Linked DNA regions of Homo sapiens: region 2 is linked to region 1. Evidence: promoter capture Hi-C in 16 types of primary human blood cells and fetal thymus (Javierre and others, 2016). All regions are on one chromosome and are shown on one strand. The core of a region is centred on a gene start or on the middle of the fragment in contact, and the rest is flanking DNA. Distances in the headings are between cores, read along the strand shown.

Region 1 (4,384 bases), core at 1,092-3,591:
GATCACCTGAGGTCAGGAGTTCTAGACCAGCCTGGCCTACATGGTGAAACCCCGTCTCTACTAAAAATACAAAAATTAGCCGGGCATAGTGGCAGGCACCTGTAATCCCAGCTACTCGGGAGGCTGAGGCAGGAGAACTGCGTGAACCCAGGAGGCAGAGGTTGCAATGAGCCGAGATTGCGCCGTCGCACTCCAGCCTGGGGGAGAAAAGCGAGGCTTAAAAAAAAAAAAAATCCAGATAGTCAGATTACAAATCCCTTCTCTTCAACACTTCCCACGGAGGAAGGTGGTTTCACCCATCTAATAGGGCTGCCCGATCTGAAATTATTTCATAACATCAGGGCTAGACAGGCACCAGACCAGCATTCTGTTATTGCTGGCAGAGGAAACAGATGGAATCAAGGCAAGGTGACACAGAGGAAGAACATAATCCCACATGGCAGCCTCCTGCTTCTTCCAGGAGTCTCCAGGCTGCCCTAATCCAACACATACTCATTTACCAACTGCTGTCCAGAAGCCCCTGGGGCAACAGACTACACCTGTCTCCAAGGGAGAGGAAGGGAAGGAGAGGAACAGCTCTGGGTTAGCCTAGGAAAATGACTCTGTGGAAGCTCCCCACTGCTGTGGAGGGCCTGGAAGCTGCCAGGCAGCCGTCTGCAATTTTGTGGTCAACAAGGAACCACTGAGAACTTCTGAGCCAAGGAGTGACAAAGTAAGACCTGTATGCTTCAAGATTACTCTGGCAAAGCAAGCAGGATGCAAATGGATGGAAAAGCAGGAAGCAGGAAAACCAACCACTGTTTGGTGAGGAGGAAAGGAGGCCCCAGAACCCCTGACAAGGGGCTGCAAAGGAGGAGATGTGAGCGACATGGGGCTGTGGCAGAAGACTTCTGGTGCCACAGGTGACTGGGGTGTCCATCCCTGTGAGCCTGAGCAAGAACAGTGACGCCACCAACAGAAACAAGGGAGTCCCTGCGCCAGCGGAGGGGGTGAGGAGGGGAGACCATGAGTTAAAAATCCCCTAGGAGGCCAGGCGCCGTGGCTCACACCTGTAATCCCAGCACTTTGGGAGGCCAAGGCGATCGGATCACCTGAGGTCAGGAGTTCGAGACCAGCCTGACCAACATGGAGAAACTCCGTCTCTACTAAAAATACAAAATTAGCCAGGCGTGGTGGTGTATGCCTGTAATCCCAGCTACTCGGGAGGCTGAGGCAGGAGAATCACTTGAACCCGGGAGGCGGAGGTTGCAGTGTGCCGAGATCTCGCCATTGCACTCCAGCCTGGGCAACGAGAGAGAAACTGTCTCAAAAAAAAAAAAAAAAAATCCCCTAGGAATACCTAGGGGAGGCAGGGTGGAGGGGTGGAGCTGGTAGTTGGGCAAGCCAGCTAGAGCTCAGGAAGAGCACCCGGAGCGGTTACCCCACGGAGAAGGAGCCTTTGCCCCACCCGCACCGAGAGAGGCAGTTTCTGAGGTTCAAGGTGATGGGTGGAAAGAGAGTCTTTTACTAGGTTCTGTTTGGGGGCTGGGAGTGTAGACACGTGGACAGGGCCTCCTGCCTGACCATCCTGCTAGGTGCTGGCCTCCAGCAGGGGCAGCTGGAGATGAGGGAGGTCAGGGGGACAGAGTGCACGGCACTGGGGACTGGCAAGGGACCCCCACAAACAGAGGAAGAGCTGCAAGTCAAAAAGGCCCTATGTCCGGGGGAAGCCCCCACAGGCCGGAGGTCAAGACTCCAGGGAGCACCTCACAGGTAGGAAAGCCTAGCAAGGGGTCACACGGTCAACAGGCAGCTGGCCCTCCCGAGGGGTGACACTCCCGGGGAGAGGGTGACCCCCACATGCAGAGGAGACGCTGCAGAGTCAGGAAGTGCCAGGAGGTGCTGTGGAGGGGTGATGTTCCCCAAGACTGGGGGGAACCCCGCAGTCAGAAGGCCTCCCCGCCATCAAGTGGCTCCTCCAGCCCCAGAAGCGTGAAACTAGCCATGGGGAGACCACCCAACCACCCTGCACGGCTCCCGCCCATCCCCCGCAGGCCCGGCCGCGCGCCCGACTCTCACCCAGCGCCAGGCCGCAGGCGGCGCCCACAGCCGCCCGGAAGCGGTCCATCTGCGTGTTCTTCTTACTGTCAGGCTCCCACATCACCTGGCACTCCAGGATCTCCTCCCGACCGGGGCGCTCCTCCTTGGACATGGCGGCGGCGGGCGGCCGGGGCTGCGACGAGGGCTGGGGACCAGGGGCCGGGGCTGAGGCGAGGGCCGGGGACCTGGGACCGGAGGAAGCGACGGTCAGGAGCGCCTGGCGGGCTGGGTCAGCGACGGCGGCGGCGGGGAACAAGGGACTGAACGGCCGCCGCCGCCTCCTGCGGGCCGCTTGGCCCAGGCCCCGCCCCGCAGGCCCCGCCTCGAATCCCCGCCCCCTTCCAGGCCCCGCCCTCCCGCCTGTAACCCTCCGCTGAGTGCAGCGCCGCTCAAAGGAGTGCTCGCAGCCGCCGGCTCCAGCGCCCGCGGCCGGGGGGCGTGGGGGTGAGGGGCGCTCACGAGCCTTGGCCCCAGCTCCCCGACCTCACCTGGAGCTGGAGGGCGTTAGGGCAGCCGGAGAAGCCAGGCGTCCGAGCCCGCTGTTTCCTACACGTGTACATCATTCATTCGCTATTTCTTCCTGCAGGTCTTTACTGAGAGCCTGCGGCATTCGGAGGACTTTGGGAGCTTTGCGGATACAGCAGCGAACAAAACAAAATTCTTGTTCTCTGTCAACAGGAGAGGAGGGGTACAGGTGTGAGGAAGACGGGAGACGATTAACAAATAAGTACATCGTGTACATACACAAGATAATGTCATAGTATAATACAATAATATACATAGTATGCCAATGGGTATCAAAATACACATTTGTGAAAGGAAAATAAATCTTGGGGCCCCACTACTAAGCTAAAGGGAAAAGAAAAGCTGGGAACTGCTTAGGGCTAACCTGCCTCCATTCTATTCAAAGTCACCCCTCTGCTGAGTTAAATGCACACCTGATTGCCTCCTTTGCAGAGGCTAATTGAAAACTCAAAAGAATGCAGCCATTTGTCCCTTATCTACCTATGACCTGGAAGGCCCCCTCCCCGCCTTAGCTTTTTTTTTTTTTTTGAGTCTCACTCAGTCGCCCAGGCTGGAGTGCAATGTCCCAATCTCAGCTCACTGTAACCTCTGCTTCCCAGGTTCAAGCGATTCTCCTGCCTCAGCCTCCTGAGTAGCTGGGATTACAGGCACACGCCATCATGCCCAGCTAATTTTTCGTGTTTTTTTTTTTGTTGTTGTTGTTGTTTGTTTTGTTTTTTTGAGACGAAGTTTCGCTCTTGTTACCCAGGCTGGAGTGCAATTGCGAGATCTCGGCACACGGCAACCTCCATCTCCCAGGTTAAAGCAATTCTCCTGCCTCAGCCTCTCGAGTACCTGGGATTACAGGCATGTGCCACCACGCCTGGCTAATTTTGTATTTTTAGTACAGACAGGGTTTTTCCATGTTGGTCAGGCTGGTCTCCAACTCCCGGCCTCAGGTGATCCGCCCGCCTCAGCCTCCCAAAGTGCTGGAATTACAGGCGTGAGCTACCGAGCCCGGCTCATTTTTGCATTTTTGTAGAGACGGGATTTCACCATGTTGGCCAGGCTGGTCTTGAAGTCCTGACCTCAGGTGATCCACCCGCCTCGGCCTCCCAAAGTGCTGGGATTACAAGAGTGAGCCCAGGTCTGAGAGCACCCCCTCCAGAGCCTCCCTGATCTCCCAAAATTTGGTGGAGATCTAAAGTTTATTTTGCTGTACAACTCTTTTCTTTGCAGTTTTACTTGCTTCCAACAAGGAAGGCAAGGTTTCCTGCTTCCATGACAATGGAAGGCAGGTAACTCCTTTATGGAGTTTGAGCTCGCTTCCAACAGGGAAGATGAGGTCTTTTTTCCTGCTTCTAGAATGGTAGAGAGCAGTCTACAGCCTAAGACCCATCCCTAGGTAAGTAACTGAATTGGGGTTTGTCTTGGCTAAAGTTAAGGTTAACAGCCAGCTGGTCTTAATGTCAGAGGCATTTGAACCAGAGCAACTCCATCTTGAGTGGGGGCTGGGTAAAATGAGGCTGAGATCTACTAGGCTCCATTCCCAGACAGTGAAGGCATTCTAAGTCACAGGATGAGACAGGAGGTCGGCACAAAATACAAGTCATAAACACCTTGCTGATAAAACACGCTGCAGTAAAAAAGCCGGCTAAATCCTACCAAAACCAAGGTGGTGATGAGAGTGACCTCTGCTTGACTTCACTACTACACTCCCATCAGCACCATGACAGTTTACAAATGCCATGGCAATGTCAGGAAGTTACTCTATATGGTCTAAAAAGGGGAGGCATGAATA
Region 2 (4,851 bases), core at 2,144-4,643, 110 kb after region 1:
ATGTTAGTTAAAAAGTAGAAAATTTAGAAAATTTACAAAGAAAACCAGTAAGAAGTAACTGTAGTTAAAGTGTAGAGTGCTATGCACCATCCCCTGTTTTAAGTACTCTACATGGAATAATACCTTTTCTTTTGGTTTTGAGACGGAGTCTCGCTCTGTCGCCCAGGCTGGAGTACAGTGGCACCATCTGGCTCACCCCAACCTTTGCCTCCTGGGTTCAAGTGATTCTCCTGCCTCAGCCTCCCGAGTAGCTGGGACTACAGATGCACGTCACCGTGCCTGGCTAATTTTTGTATTTTTAGTAGAGATGGGGGTTTCCCCATGTTGGCCAGGCTGGTCTTGAACTCCTGACCTCAAGTGATCCACCCACCCCAGCCTTCCAAAGTGCTGAGATTACAGGTGTGTGCCGCCACACCCAGCCAGTGGAATAATAGCTAATTAATTTTCACCAATTCCTTACGAGGCAGCTGCAATTTGAGCTGCATTTCACAGGTGAGGAGAATGAGGCAGGAAGCGGTAAAGCACCGTGCCTGCTGTCAGGTGAAGATCCAGTCCCAGTGGCATGACTGAGTTTTGTTTGTTGTCCCGGTTTCTGTCTGCCCAGGCTGTATTCATCTGTGGTTTTTGGTGTGAGTTTTGTGTTTGTTGTCCCGGTTTCTCTCCATCCAGGCTGTATTCATCTGCGGTTTTTGGTGACTTCGAGCAGTTTCCTCCTCCAGAAATCACCCGGAGGCCTGTTGAAGACTTAATCCTTCAAATGAAGGCGCTCAACGTTGAAAAGGTCAGTTGCTGCCCCCAGCCCCGCTCTCAGCCACCCCAGTGGACCACCTCCCTTTCCCTGAGGCAGGGAGCCCAGAGCTGGGTCTGCTGGTGCCTGGCCTGCGGCAGCTGCTTACACAACAGTGCATCAGCAGGTGCTCCCAGGGCTTCTGGGCTCCTGTGACCGCTGCCTCCCCAGTGCTGCATCGCCCGTGGACACCCAGGGGATGGCTGTCTGGAATAGAGGCAGCAGGGTCCTGCACGCTGTTCATGTACTATCCGTCCGTGGGGCGTGCAGAACGTGCTGCCGGCTCTTCCTGGCTGCAGCCTTCTCCGACCCAGTCCTCCAGTGGAGGGGGGGATCCCTCTAGGGTCACCCTCCCTCCCCCTGCTCCAGGGCAGGCTAAGCCAGGCAGTGCCCCGTGCCACGCTGCGTGCTGTCCTGTGGGCGTTCAGATCCCCATTTAACTGATGAGGAAACGGAGGCAGGGAAGTGAAGGTTTTTGTCCAGGGACACACATCTAGTAAGTGACAGAACCCACATGGTCTCCTAGTGCCTTTTAAACATCTGTGCTCACTGATTTTTCTGGATGTTAATATGTTCAAAATCATAAAAACTTCAGATACTTGAGATCATCAGGGAGAAGGTGAAGCCCGTCCCACTGTCCGCCATTTGTGACCTGTGTCCCAGTTACGTTTCCAAACACATAACATCCTGTACTTTATTCCTGTGGTTTTGTGAATATTGTCTGATATGTTACACGCTGCTTTGGGGGCTTGATTTTTTCACCTAATAAAAATCATGGGTGCTGGCCGGGCCTGGTGGCTCACACCTGTAATCCTAGCACTTTGGGAGGCTGAGACATGTGGATTAGTTGAGGTCAGGAATTTGAGACCAGCCTGGCTAACATGGCAAAACCCCGTCTCTACTAAAAATACAAAAAAAAAAATTAGCCAGGGAGGCTGGGCGTGGTGGCTCACGCCTGTAATCTCAGCACTTTGGAAGGCCGAGGCAGGTGGATCACAAAGTCAGGAGTTCAAGACCAGCTTGGCCAACAAGGTGAAACCCCGTCTCTAGTAAAGATACAAAAAATTAGCTGAGTGTGGTGGCACACGCCTGTAATCCCAGCTACTCAGGAGGCTGAGGCAGGATAATCACTTGAACCCGGGAGGCGGAGGTTGCAATGGGCCGAGATTGTGCCATTGCACTCCAGCCTGGGTGACAGGGCGAGACTCCGTCTCCAAAAAAAAAAAAAAAAAGCCAGGTGTGGTGACAGGTGCCTATAATCCCAGCTACTTGGGAGGCTGAGGCAGGAGAATCACTGGAACCTGGGAGGCAGAGGTTGCAGTGAGCCAAGATCATGCCGTTGCACTCCAGACTGGGAGACAGAGCAAGACTCCGTCCCAAAAAAAAAAAAAAAAAGCTGGGTGCATTGGCTCACAGCACTTTGGGAGGCCGAGGCGGGTGGATCACAACATCAGGAGCTCGAGACCAGCCTGGCCAATATGGTGAAACTCCGTCTCTACTAAAAATATAAAAATTAGCCAGGCGTGATGGTGGGCACCTGTAGTTCCAGCTACTCGGGAGGCTGAGGCAGGAGAATTCTTGAACCCAAGAGGCAGAGGTTGCAGTGAGCCGAGATCACGCCGTTGCACTCTAGCCTGGGCGATATAGCAAGACTCCATCTCACAAAAAAAAAGAAAAAAAAGAATCATGGATGCCAAGTATGTGCTGGGCGTTCAGCACGTGTGACCTCAGGTTATCCTCCCAGCCACTCTAGGAGGGAGTTACTAGTGTTATCACCCCATTTTCCAGATGAGGAGCCTGAGACACTGAGACAGGCCTGACTGTGGGTCACGTGGATAAAAAGTGTCAGGGCTGGGCTGGGAGCTCAGTGTGGCTGGGAGCACTGTCGGGAGTGCCTCCCACAAGTGACATCAAGTCCACTCTGTAGAAACTCCGCAGTGGCTTCCCCTGGCTCTTGAGTCAGCTCCAGAGCAGGCCCCCTCCTGCCTTCCCCCAGACCTGGGTTCCTAGCATTGCCTCCTTACCTGCGTGCCTGCTGCAGGCTCACCACCCCGCCTCTAGCTTTATTGAGATAGAGTTCAGGCACCACACAGTCACCCATTGAAAGTGTGTGGGTCAGTAGTTTCCAGTGTGTTCACAAAGTTGTGCGGACATCACCACCGTGGCCATTTTCATCACCCCAGAAAGGAAGCATGTACCCTTTATCTGTCACCACCTCCCAGCTCCCTGGCCCCTGTGCCCACTCCTCTCCATGGATTTGCCAGTTTGGGACATTTCATGCAGATGGAATCCTACAATGCGTGGCCTTTGTGCCCGGCGTCTTTCCCTGAGTATGATGTTCTCAAGCTCCATCCGTGGTGTAGCGCGTGTCGCTGCTTCACTCCTATTCGCGGCTGAATCATTGTCCATTTTATGGGTGGCCCACGTTTTGTTCATGCACTCCTCCATTCAGAGACGCACAGGTTGCTTCCATCTTTTGGCTATTGTGATAAATTTATTCACGTTATTATTACTATTTTGAGATGGGGTCTCACTCTGTCACCCAGGCTGGAGTACAGTGGTGTGATCTCGGCTCACTGAAACCCCCACCTCCCAGGTTCAAATGATTCTCCTGTCTCAGCCTCCCAAGTAGCTGGGACTACAGGCGAGCGCCACCACACCCGGCTAATTTTTGTATTTTTAGTAGAGATGGGGGTTTCACCATATTGGTCAGGCTGGTCTCGAACTCCTGACCTCAGGTGATCTACCCGCCTCAGCCTCCCAAAGTGCTGGGATTACAGGCGTGAGCCACCGCACCAGGCCAATTTATTCGTATTATGCCTCACTGACTACCTGTGGCCCCTCCTGGTCAAATGACGCTCAGTCCTCATGAGTATAATAGTCTGTTAAAAACCGAAAAAAGCACCCAGCGGGGGCAAAGCACAGCCCTCAGTGCCTAGCCAGTGCTTGGGACGTGTTTTTGAGTGAATGGATGAGGTGAGTGAGTAAAGGAGGCCTTGGGGTTCCATTGGGACCTGGCCTTTGAGAGTGCCCCAGGCCCCTGTGTCCCCACTGGCATGAGCTGAGCCCGGAGAGAGGGGTTGGAGGGAGTGCCTGCCACAGACGGAGCAGGAGCACCGGACTTGTTCTTGGCATTCACCCTGTCCCTGCCACGTCTCCTTGTGTCCCAGGTCATCAACTTCCCCTTCCCGACGCCCCCCTCCGTGGAAGCCCTTCTTGCCGCCGAGGAGCTGTTGATCGCACTGGGTGCCCTGCAACCGCCCCAGAAAGCAGAAAGGTAAGGCCAAGAGATGCAGAGCCCAGTTCCTGCCCCGTTCAGGGCCCTCTCTCCCTTTTGCTGGGCCTGAGCTGCCTCAAGCGTGGGGCCTCCCAGCTGTGGCTCCAGAGCTCCTCTCAGAGCACTGCCACCACCACCTCCATCTCCAGGGTGAAGCAACTGCAGGAGAACCGGCTGAGCTGCCCCATCACTGCGCTGGGCCGGACAATGGCCACATTCCCCGTGGCACCCCGCTACGCTAAGATGCTGGCACTGAGCCGACAACACGGCTGCCTGCCCTATGCCATCACCATCGTGGCCAGCATGACGGTGCGGGAGCTGTTTGAGGAGCTGGACAGGTGCGAGGTTGGCGGCTGGGCACTCAGGGCCAAGCTCAGTTCCGACGGGGGCTCTGGGCTGAGAGTCCCAGCTACTCAGGAGGCTGAGGTAGAAGAATCATTTGAACCCAGGAGGTAGAGGTTGCAGTGAGCTGAGATTGTGCAACTGCACTCTAGCCTGGGCAACAGAGTGAGACCCTTCTCTAAAAAAAGAAAAAGAAAAGTGACACTAAGACTGTGAAAGTATGTTGAAAGTATGTTTAGTGCATTGTGTATTTAACAAAATTTACTTATAGATTATGACTACATGCTAATTCTTAGAATGAACAATTATTTAATAATTTCCTGGCATCCTATTGCGTAGATCTGCCTTTGGCAGCTTAATGATAAAAGGGGTCATTTCTGCAGAGATTTCTGGAAGCAACTTGAGTTTCTCAAGGGCTTGGTAAGTCTTCAGCGTTCACATCATT

What was found. The method cuts DNA at HindIII sites, captures the fragments that hold promoters and counts their contacts. A CHiCAGO score of 5 or more calls a contact.
Region 2: a contact is called between a fragment that was not itself captured here and the fragment with the promoter of AACS in region 1, in 1 of 17 cell types (neutrophils). The highest score is 5.6, in neutrophils.

What each region holds. Positions count from the first base shown.
Region 1 is chr12:125,063,392-125,067,775 of GRCh38, reverse strand. It overlaps AACS (acetoacetyl-CoA synthetase), which reads right to left and starts at 2,341. Exons shown (of 18, transcript NM_023928.5): 1 at 2,059-2,341. The coding sequence starts at 2,191. It overlaps LOC105370052 (a long non-coding RNA gene), which reads left to right. Exons shown (of 4, transcript XR_001749365.2): 3 at 2,666-2,773. RefSeq lists a silencer at 2,081-2,700. The HindIII fragment of the contact is 11,218 bases long and covers 1-4,384 here.
Region 2 is chr12:124,956,242-124,961,092 of GRCh38, reverse strand. DHX37 (DEAH-box helicase 37) reads left to right here. Exons shown (of 27, transcript NM_032656.4): 16 at 670-781; 17 at 3,958-4,064; 18 at 4,214-4,402. Among named protein-coding and RNA genes, the nearest start is that of TRA-TGC4-1, 19 kb to the right of the region's middle. The HindIII fragment of the contact is 8,476 bases long and covers 1-4,851 here.